3 separate regions of the Homo sapiens genome follow, and all the other regions are linked to region 3. The links are contacts of gene promoters, found by promoter capture Hi-C in blood cells and fetal thymus (Javierre and others, 2016). All regions are on one chromosome and are shown on one strand. Each heading gives the region's core, a stretch centred on a gene start or on the middle of the fragment in contact. The rest is flanking DNA. Distances are from core to core; before and after follow the strand shown. Region 1 has its middle 4.8 kb from the start of PCDHB4. Region 2 has its middle 5.9 kb from the start of PCDHB2. Region 3 holds the start of PCDHA5 (protocadherin alpha 5).

Region 1 (3,395 bases), core at 38-2,537, 300 kb before region 3:
CCTGGGTGACAGAGTGAGACTCTTTCTCAAAAAAATAAAACCAAAAACTACTAAAATAAATAAATGAGTTCAGCAAGCTTGCAGAATACAAGATCACTATACAGAAATCAATTGTATTTCTATACAGTAGCATTGAACAAATCAAAAATGAAATCAAGAAAGCAATGGAATTTATAATAGATATCATCAAAAGGAATAAAATGCTTAGGAATAAATTTAACAAAAGAAGTGGGAGAACTGAACACTGAGCACTACAAAACATCATTGAAAGAAATTAAAGAAGATCTAAGTAAATGAAAAGTGTTCATGGATTGGAAGACTTAAGATTGTTAAAATATTGGTATGCTCCAAATTGCTCTACAGATTTAGTGCAATCCCTATCAAAATTTCAGTTGGCTTTTTTGCAGAAATTGGTAAAGTGACCGTAAAATTCACATGAAAATGCGAGGTACCCAGAATACAATCTTGGGAAAAGAGGAACAAAGTTGAAAAGCCCACACTTTCTGATTGTAAAGATATATTCTAAGTTATATATCACATATTTGAGTATTTTGATATATTAAACTTATAAATGCTATTTTTATTCTAGAAAAAATTATTAGAAATTATCTTAGATTCCATCACAAATTTCTCAAGTCAAACTCTAATTATTCAAGTATCCCCTTCCTACATGTACATTTCAGTGAGTGTGACTTTAAAAATATCTTATAGGTTTAAGTTTGGAAAGTTAGCTAATGTAAAATTTACTTTGCTTTCACCACTGAGCACTATTGTTTGCTTTACAGCTATTTCATTCAAATGGTCAGCTGATGTATCTATTGTACCCATTTAATAGAACATTCCAGGAGATCATTCCTTTTATAAGAATTTCTAATAAATTCCACAAACCATTGATAGTAACCATTTATTATTGAGAGCTTAACATTTTGAAATAGTGCTATTGGAAATATGATTTAAAGAAATAATAGTCAAATTTATCTCTTTCTCTCAAAAATTAATGTTTAATTTTCCTCTATTCTCCCCTTTCAAAGTAAGAACAAAACCATCCTCAAGTCATGGTGAAGTTTTAAAAATACTCTTTCATTTTTAAAATAGACTATTCAAAATAGTATGAATTTAACATTTTTAACTTTAGGACTAGGTATATTCAAATCCCTTTTTTTTTTTTTTTTTGAGACGGAGTCTCGCTCTGTGGACCAGGCGGGAGTGCAGTGGCGCAATCTCGGCTCACTGCAAGCTCCGCCTCCCGGGTTCACGCCATTCTCCTGCCTCAGCCTCCCGAGTAGCTGGGACTACAGGCGCCCACCATCACGCCCGGCTATTTTTTTTGTATTTTTAGTAGAGACGGGGTTTCACCGTGTTAGCCAGGATGGTCTCGATCTCCTGACCTCGTGATCTGCCCACCTCGGCCTCCCAAAGTGCTGGGATTACAAGCGTGAGCCACCGCGCCCGGCCTCAAATCCCTTTTTAAATCTTTTTTTCTTGAGACAAGGTCACACAGGCCCCTGGAGTGCAGTGACACCATCATAGCTCACTGCAGCCTCGAGCTCCTGGGCTCAAGCAATCTTCATGCCTTGGCCTCCTGAGTAGCTGGGATTACAGGTGCAAGCCACCATATTCAGCTAATTAAAAAAAATTTGTAGAGATGGGGTCTTGTTATGTTGATCATCCTGGTCTTGAACTCCTGGCCTCAAGCATTCCTTCCACCTTGGCCTTCCAAAATGCTGGGATTACAGATATGAACAACTGCAACTGGCTCATTGTTTGATTTTAACATGCTGAACCAACCTTGCATTCCTGAGATAAATCCTACTTGGCCATGGTATGTAATCATTTTTATGTGATACTAGAGTCAGTTTGCTAAAATTTTGTTGAGAATGTTTGCATCTATATCCATAAGAGAAATTGGTATGTATTTTTCCCTTGTGTTATCACTGTCTGGTTTTGTCATCATGTTAATACTGGCCTCTATAGAATAGAGTTGAAAAGTGGTCCCTGCTCCTCTATTTTTTGAATGAGTATATTAAGTACTGGTGTTAATTCTTCTTTAAACATTTGGTAGAATTGACCAGTGAAGCCATCTGGTTCTGGGCTTTTCTTTGTGGAAAGTTTTTGATTACTGGTTCGATCTCTTATTACAGGTCTATTCAGGTTTTTTGTTAGGTTGGTGTAAAAGTAATTGTGTTTTTTGCCATTGAAAGTGATGGCAAAACCACAACTACTCTTGCACCAACCTAGTATTTCTCCTTAGTCAGTTTTGGCAATTACAGGTCTATTCACATTTTCTATTTCTCCTTAGTCAATTTTGGTAGTTTGTGTTTTCCATTTAATCTAGGGTTTTTTTTTTCCATTTCATCTAGGTTTTCTAATTTGTTGGCTTAAAATTGTTTATAGTATTCCCTTAAGACCTGTGAAATAGGTCATACTTTTTCCTCCTTTTTTTTAATTTTAGTAATTTGAGTCCTCTTTTTTCATCATCAGCCTAGCTAAAGCTTTGCCAATTTTATTGATCTTTTCAAAGCACCAACTTTTAGTTTATTTTCTCCATTGTTTTTCTATTCTATTTATTTCCACTCTAATAATTTCCTTTCTTCAGCTTGTATTGGTTTTAGTATGCTCTCCTTTTTCTAGCTTCTTAAGGTGGAAGTCTGGGTTACTGATTTGAGATCTTCTTAAAATATATAAGTATTTCAGCTATTATTTTCCCTCTAAGCACAACTTTTATTGTATCCCATAAGTTTTGGTATGTTGCATTTTCATTTTTATTCATTTCAGAGTATTTTTTAATGTCCTTTGTGATTTCTTCTTTGATTCATTGTTTTTTTAAATGTTTAATTTCCACATATTTGTGAATTTCCCAAATTTTCTTCTGCCACTGCTTTCTAATTTCATTTCATTGTAGCTGGAAAACATACTTTATATGATTTTAACTCTTTCAAATTCATTAAGACTTGTTTTATGGCCTAAAATATAGTCTATCCTGGAGAATGTTTCATATGCACTTGAAAATAATGTGTATTCTGCTGTTGTTAGATGGAGTGTTCTGTTAAGTACTGTTGGTTTATAACATTATTCAAGTCTTCTTTTCTCATGTTGATACTATTTCATTGTTTTATCATTTATTGAAAATTGTGGTATTAAAGTCTTCAGCTATTATTGTCAAATTGTCTAACTTTTCATTTGTGTCTCTTTTTGCTCCATTTATTTTGGGTTTCTATTATTAGGTGCATATATGTTTATGATTATTATGTTTTCCTAATGGATTGACCCTTTTACTATTATAAAATTCCCCTCCTTAACTTTTCATTTTTAGTAACTTTTGTGCTTGTTTTATAGTATATTTTGCTTGATATTAATGTAGGCATTCTAGCTCTTTTGGTTACTATCTACATAGT
Region 2 (3,244 bases), core at 314-2,813, 270 kb before region 3:
TCTCAAACAACAACAACAACAACAAACAAACAAGCAAATGAAACAAGAAATAAATATAACTCAAAAAGGGGAAATGGTGTTGTTTATTCTCTTCCCACAGTACAAATAAGCAAGAAAAGGTTTTTAAAATGATACCTGCACAAGAATCTTGCCCAATTTTGTTTAAGGAGAACCATCAGAGTCTATTAGGACAATCTGTCCCCTTGAAAATAAAAATCTTGACCAGGACTGCAGATAAAGCTAGATAGACAGATATAGATGGAAATAGAGATGAGAGAGACAGAGGTATGACCTCTTCCAAAAATCTCAGACTTTTTTTTATGATTAAAATAGGTTAAAACTTAAATCAGGTTTAGGTAATCTGGTAGATGATTGAATTTTCACTAAGATCACTATTGAAATTTTACTTTAAAAGAAAATATGGACTGGGTGCTGTGGCTTATGCCTGTAATCCCAGCACTTTGGGAGGCCAAGGCAGGTGGATCACGAGGTCAGGAGATCGAGACCATCCTAGCTAACACGGTGAAACCCTGTCTCTACTAAAAATACAAAAAATTAGCTGGGCATGGTGGCAGGCGCCTGGAGTCCCAGCTACTCGGGAGGCTGAGGCAGGAGAATGGCGTGAACCCGGGAGGCAGAGCTTGCAGTGAGCTGAGATGGCGCCACTGCACTCCAGCCTGGGCAACAGAGCGAGACTCCATCTCAAAAAAAAAAAAAAAGAAAAGAAAATAATATGGCTAAATACAATATCGAAAATTAGTAAATAATGAAGAAATCCAAAGGTGTAGAGAGGGCAAAGAATACGGGGTGAGGGGAAGAAACCTGAAACTCTGACTACAAAATACAAAGCATAAATAATCAATTTAGATATGCTAAAGAAATATAAGGAAATACTTGAAAATTATAACATATTTTCATATCACAGTAATTATTTGAACATCTACTGTGTAAAGAAGCAGGCCAACAAGAAAACAAAGGAATACTAAAACCATAGTATATGCTAAGTGAGGAATCTAAGTGACAGACCCCATATTCCTGAGGTCTGTCAAGATGTAGCCAGTAGAGCTGAAAGAAACAGCTGACCAGCAGCAGTTGTTGTCTGAATCTGGAATACATAGGTGGCATCTCAGTGTCCTTGACCATAACCTGAAGTCTATGATTGGCTAGATTACCATCACTCACAAACCTAGTGTGCACACTTCCCAGTGTTGGGCTAACACGCTATACAGATGGAGACTCAAGTCTTTGAGTAACTGATAGGACATGAAGACCTTCCAGACCTAGTCTCCTTCTACTGCCACCACCTTGAACATCACATAATCCGTTCTGCATTAAATATAACACAAAGGAGAATTGCCATTGCCATCAAATATTACCAACCACACCAACACCATGCTGCTAGCTCATGGTAGTAGTAGTGTCTGTTTCTCTCATACAGAACTTGACTCTTATGGGCCTTACAAACAGATTCTTTGTGTCCACTGTCATGGAGTACTGCACATCCTGGGAAACCAGAAGCAAATAAGTTACTTGGGTGTTTTTCTAAGTCTCTGTTTATGGCAGTGTGCTGCTAAAATGCACACTCTAGGGCTGTGTTTTCATACTTGATAAGTGCAGAGGCAGTTTGGTGAAAATGAAGACCTGGTTATATTGTTTCCTTTCAGCTTACAGTAACTCCAGATCTCTGGCAGTAATCATAGAATTGTACTTGTCTTTAATCTACCTCTATTGAAGGCTTTAGGGTGAAGGGAAGGTGGTATTATGAAGCCCAAATATCTATTTTTTTTTCTGTGATCTGGATCTGAAACACAGGAAACAGCAGATATGGTCTTAAAGCAGATATGGCTCCTTGGGACCTAGTTCATAAATGATGACATGATGATTAGGAGTGGACTGTCTTTTACAGCAAGAAGTTACATTTTCTAGAGTCTTTAATTATTGATGATCTCAGAATCCACACTGTAGATTAGTATAGCCTTGGAATTTACGGGTTTGAGTGATGGGTTTGCTTTTGGTACTTTTATACCAATGTAAATGCTTTATTAAAGTTTTCATTAAGTCTTCAGTAGCCCGGTAAAACCTTAAAGATAGTTTTATATTATACCTTGTATCCAAATTCCTGATAGAAAAGTGATAGCCAGGGAGGAAAAACTTTTTTTCTGGGATTACTGTACTGAACTACTATATATTACAGCTGAGTAAAATCACTGATAACCCACAACTTTGGTGAAGACCAATGCAGATTTGGATCTATGTGGGGACCCACCATCCAATATCATGATAGTTAAATTAACCTCAACCCATTTCTTTCCACTGAGAAAATTGCCCATCCTCATTCAGGATATTTTCTGCCACCATTCTCTAAGCAAACAGAAGAGAAGACATGGGAATTAGGATTCAAAATATACTTATGAATACTGCTCTGTCTACATGTTCTGCCATCTATATGGTCTCTACAAGATGCTCTCCTTGATTTTTTGCAGCATTCCTAGATCCAGTAATACACACTAGTGAATGGCTATATCTGTGAGTCCAAGGCACCTTGTAAAAATGTAACTCATTTTTCCAAGTTACCTTTCTCAAGGCAAATGAGTAACTCAAATGAGTTACATTTTTCCAAGGTGCTTTGAGACTCACAGATGGATCCAATTTCTATTTAGTACCCACTCCTGAGTCTTTTGATTTGAAAATGCAGTTTTTTAAATCTATAGAAACATGAATTACCCTCTCGCTCCCCATACCTCTCAAGTTCCCCATCCTAAGGCCCAAAATCTCTGCAAAATTAGCAATGAAGGAACCACTCTCCAGCACCTCTGGAACAGAATTCTGCAGTTCAGTATCCTGAATGGTACATGCTTAGTAAAACAGAATCACACTTTGTTTTAGACTGGGCTTTAAGTATTACATTATTCCTTCTTCTAACACCTTCCAGCAAATATGGTCCTACACAAACTCTGATCACCCTAATGTTTCTATTACTTATGCCACCAGAATCTTAGACATCCAATACAACTTTCACAGACAGGGTAATATAATATGAAACATACAGCACTGTATTTGCAATCTGCTTTAACCACCATTTGAGCCTGCAGTGCCATTATAGGACCGCCCCCCACCCCCCGTCAGTGCATTAAACTCTCTAGAAAGAAAAAAAGTATTTGAGAAAGGCAAATGAAAACACCAAACACTTTGTATTTATGTAATTATTATCCAGTGTATTGAATAATGTCTGTTTTCATTTTAT
Region 3 (3,255 bases), core at 755-3,254:
GGCGCTGGCTGCAGCTCATACGAAAGCCAAGCGTTGTAGCCCGAATCAGGGTCCACTGCGCGCACCTTCGCCACCACGTGGCCCGCACCCACTGACCTCGGCACCAGCTCGCTCACTGCGCCGCCGGTGCCACCCACTCGAGGCACCAGCAGCGCCGGCGCGTTGTCGTTCTCGTCCAGCACGAACACCTGCAGCGTCACGTTGCTGCCCAGAGGCGGCACGCCCGCGTCGCGCGCGCTCACCTGGAACTGCAGCAGCTCCACTTCCTCGTGGTCCAGCGGCTGCAGCGCGTACACCTTGCCGCTCTCCGCGTGCACCGAAACGTAACTCGACAGCGGGCGCTCGCCCACCCGCCGCTCCACCAGCGAGTAGGACACCAGGGCGTTCTCCTGCGCGTCCGCGTCCCGTGCAGACACCGTGAAGATGTGGCAGCCTGGCGGGTTGTTCTCCTTCACGAACACGGTATACTGGGGCTGCGCGAACGCCGGAGCGTTGTCGTTCACGTCGGCCACTTCCACAGACACGCTGGCGGTGGCCCACAGCGAAGGCGAGCCCCCGTCCCGCGCGGTCACCACCAGCTCATAGACCGACACGCTCTCGCGGTCCAGGGCGCTGTCCAGCACCAACGAGTAGTAATTCTTGAAGGTGGACACCAGCTTGAAGGGAACGTGGGGCATTAGGGAGCAGGTCACCTGCCCGTTGGCACCTGAGTCACGGTCAGACACGCTGATCAGAGCAATGACCGTGCTGAGTGGAGCGTCCTCTTTGACAGGCAGGAAAAGGGTGGTTATGGCCATCTCTGGGGTATTATCATTCACATCCAGGAGTTTCACTACTACTTTACAGTGTCCTGATAATGGGAATGTACTTTTATCCATGGCATCAATATTAATTTCATATGAGTTATAGTCTTCATAATCCAGTTCCCCGTTAACTTTTATTTCACCAGTATTAGAATTAATTATAAATTTGGACTTTACATCGTCAAGAACAAGATTACTAAAGAAATACACTATTTCCTTATTGATGCCCTCATCTGCATCTGAGGCGTTCAGTTTAATAACTAATGTCCCACTTGGTGCATTTTCCAACAATCTGACATTATAAATGGATTTATCAAATTCTGGGGCGTTATCATTAGCATCCAATACATTGATCAACAACTGAACTGTACCTGTTAGTTCGGGTTTTCCTCCATCAGTTGCAATCACTAATAAACGGTGTTCTTGTGTTTCTTCTCTATCTAAGGATTTCCTCAAAACCAGCTCTAAAAAGTTCGTTTCTTCTTCATTTGTTTTAACATCTAAGTCAAAATATTCGTTTGGATTTAACCTGTATCTCAATTGTGCATTTGCTCCAATATCCAAATCCGACGCGCCCTCTAGCGGAAACCGCGAATCTGGCATTCTTGACTCTAAAATGAATAATCTTTGTTCTTGTCTGGAGAACCTGGGCGGATTGTCATTGATGTCCTTCACTGCCACCTCCACATGGAAAACCTGCAGCGGCCTGTCCACGATCACCTCCAGGTGGATGCTGCACTCCGCCCTCCGCCGGCACAGCTCCTCCCGGTCGATCCGAGAATTCACAAACAAAATGCCATTCTGCAGATTTACCTCCAGAAGGTCCCCGCGGCCCTTGGACGCCACCCGGAACAGGCGCGGCACCAGCTCCGCCAGCTCCAGCCCTAGGTCCTGCGCGATGCGGCCAACGAAGGTTCCGTGTTTGGCTTCCTCCGGGATCGAGTAGTGGAGCTGGCCGCTCCCTGCCTTCCAGTAGGCAAGGAGAAGCCAGAGCAGCAGGAGCCGGGATCCCAGACTTCCTCTCCGGGAATATACCATCTCAATCTCGTTCCAATTATGAGCTTTCTATTGCATCACCACACAATGTATTTTGTAAATTCAATTCCCAATTAACTATATATTTTTTATATTATCGCCTTTCTGAGCTTCTTGGCACAGCCAAAAATGGAAGGTTCTTTTCCTTTCTGTCTAAGGAAAATCTACTCACTGTATTCCTTTGAGGCTGGGAAGGGAGAAAAACCTTCCGGTGTCCAGCGACATCATGTGGATGAAAGGGTAAGTGTTTTATTTTGTTTTGCTTTATTTAGCTTATATTCGTCAATATTTCTCAAGTATTCTCACTTTCAATGACATGATTCTTATTCTTTAAATCACTTATCTCTAGTCAAAATATATCATTAAACTCTATCTTAAAATGCGTCAATATAAGTGCGTCATTAAAATATTACAGAAAAATACATCTAAAGTCATGAAACCCCAATCCTTACTAGAGAAATTTGTGCTGGTGTATTTTATATAGGGAGGAGTTTATATATTTCCAAACTGATAAAAATAACTTTTAAGAGTTAAAGTTTTGACTTTTCTCATCTCTATTTAAACATATCTAATTAAAACTTTTGAGTTTTTTCTGTATTAGTCAATGGAATGTTTGTATGCTATCTCCGTGTTACTCATAAAACAAATTTTTATTCCAATTTCACTGTTTAATAGTGACATTTTGTTGATGTTATTTTCAAAAACAACTAAAACTATTTTAATGGCATTCTTACCTGAGTTTCTTCTCGGAGTTCTAATTTTCAAATCGATGAAAACCTATTTCTTTATCTATAACACCTATCTACTTTTTGTATTGACTCAAAAACTGTAATGGGGATATTTCAGCTTTCTAGAAATCAAAAGCATAATAGAACGACTTTGGTAAATCGTCTTTGCACTATTTTCAAATTAGAAGCATCTAGATAGCATTTCTTCAAGTTGCTATTACTGATAAAGCAATTATTAAAAATTGTAAAATACATACCTTTGTACTTACATAACAAGTCAAAATCCTAATATTGTCTATATGACATACTATTTCACAAAATGTTTAGGTTCCAGTAAATATAATCATGTTGAAAAGAATATCATTTTATTAACCAGGCTATCTTTATATTAGTTTAATTACTTTTTAATCTCCCAACTGTTTACTGGATGGTATGATTTGAACACGACCTAGAAAATTTAGTAAACTTCACTTAATAAATATGGGCAAAAGAAAATATCACCAAGTTTTCTATTGAAGAAATAGCTAACATTCTGCTTGTATATATACTCCATAAAATTCCTTAAATATTACAAAATATCCCTTACCTGTGAAGACAAGAGGGACCAAGAGATTAGCAATTCTATTGTTGGATACTTTTACATTTAAAATATAGCTTGATAAGAAAAAAGAAATTACCAGAAAATGCAA

The links. The method cuts DNA at HindIII sites, captures the fragments that hold promoters and counts their contacts. A CHiCAGO score of 5 or more calls a contact.
Region 1: a fragment that was not itself captured here is called in contact with the fragment with the promoter of PCDHA5 in region 3 in 1 of 17 cell types (erythroblasts); the score reaches 5.5 in erythroblasts.
Region 2: a contact is called between a fragment that was not itself captured here and the fragment with the promoter of PCDHA5 in region 3, in 1 of 17 cell types (M2 macrophages). The highest score is 5.2, in M2 macrophages.

The regions. Positions count from the first base shown.
Region 1 is chr5:141,115,330-141,118,724 of GRCh38, reverse strand. It overlaps PCDHB@. Among named protein-coding and RNA genes, the nearest start is that of PCDHB4, 4.8 kb to the left of the region's middle. The HindIII fragment of the contact is 2,415 bases long and covers 80-2,494 here.
Region 2 is chr5:141,087,048-141,090,291 of GRCh38, reverse strand. It overlaps PCDHB@. Among named protein-coding and RNA genes, the nearest start is that of PCDHB2, 5.9 kb to the left of the region's middle. The HindIII fragment of the contact is 4,657 bases long and covers 1-3,244 here.
Region 3 is chr5:140,820,362-140,823,616 of GRCh38, reverse strand. PCDHA5 (protocadherin alpha 5) reads right to left here and starts at 2,004. Exons shown (of 4, transcript NM_018908.3): 1 at 1-2,004. The coding sequence starts at 1,841. The region is part of intron 1 of PCDHA1 (protocadherin alpha 1); the gene reads right to left. All of the region lies in intron 1 of PCDHA2 (protocadherin alpha 2), which reads right to left. The region is part of intron 1 of PCDHA3 (protocadherin alpha 3); the gene reads right to left. It also overlaps PCDHA4 and PCDHA@. The HindIII fragment of the contact is 13,774 bases long and covers 1-3,255 here.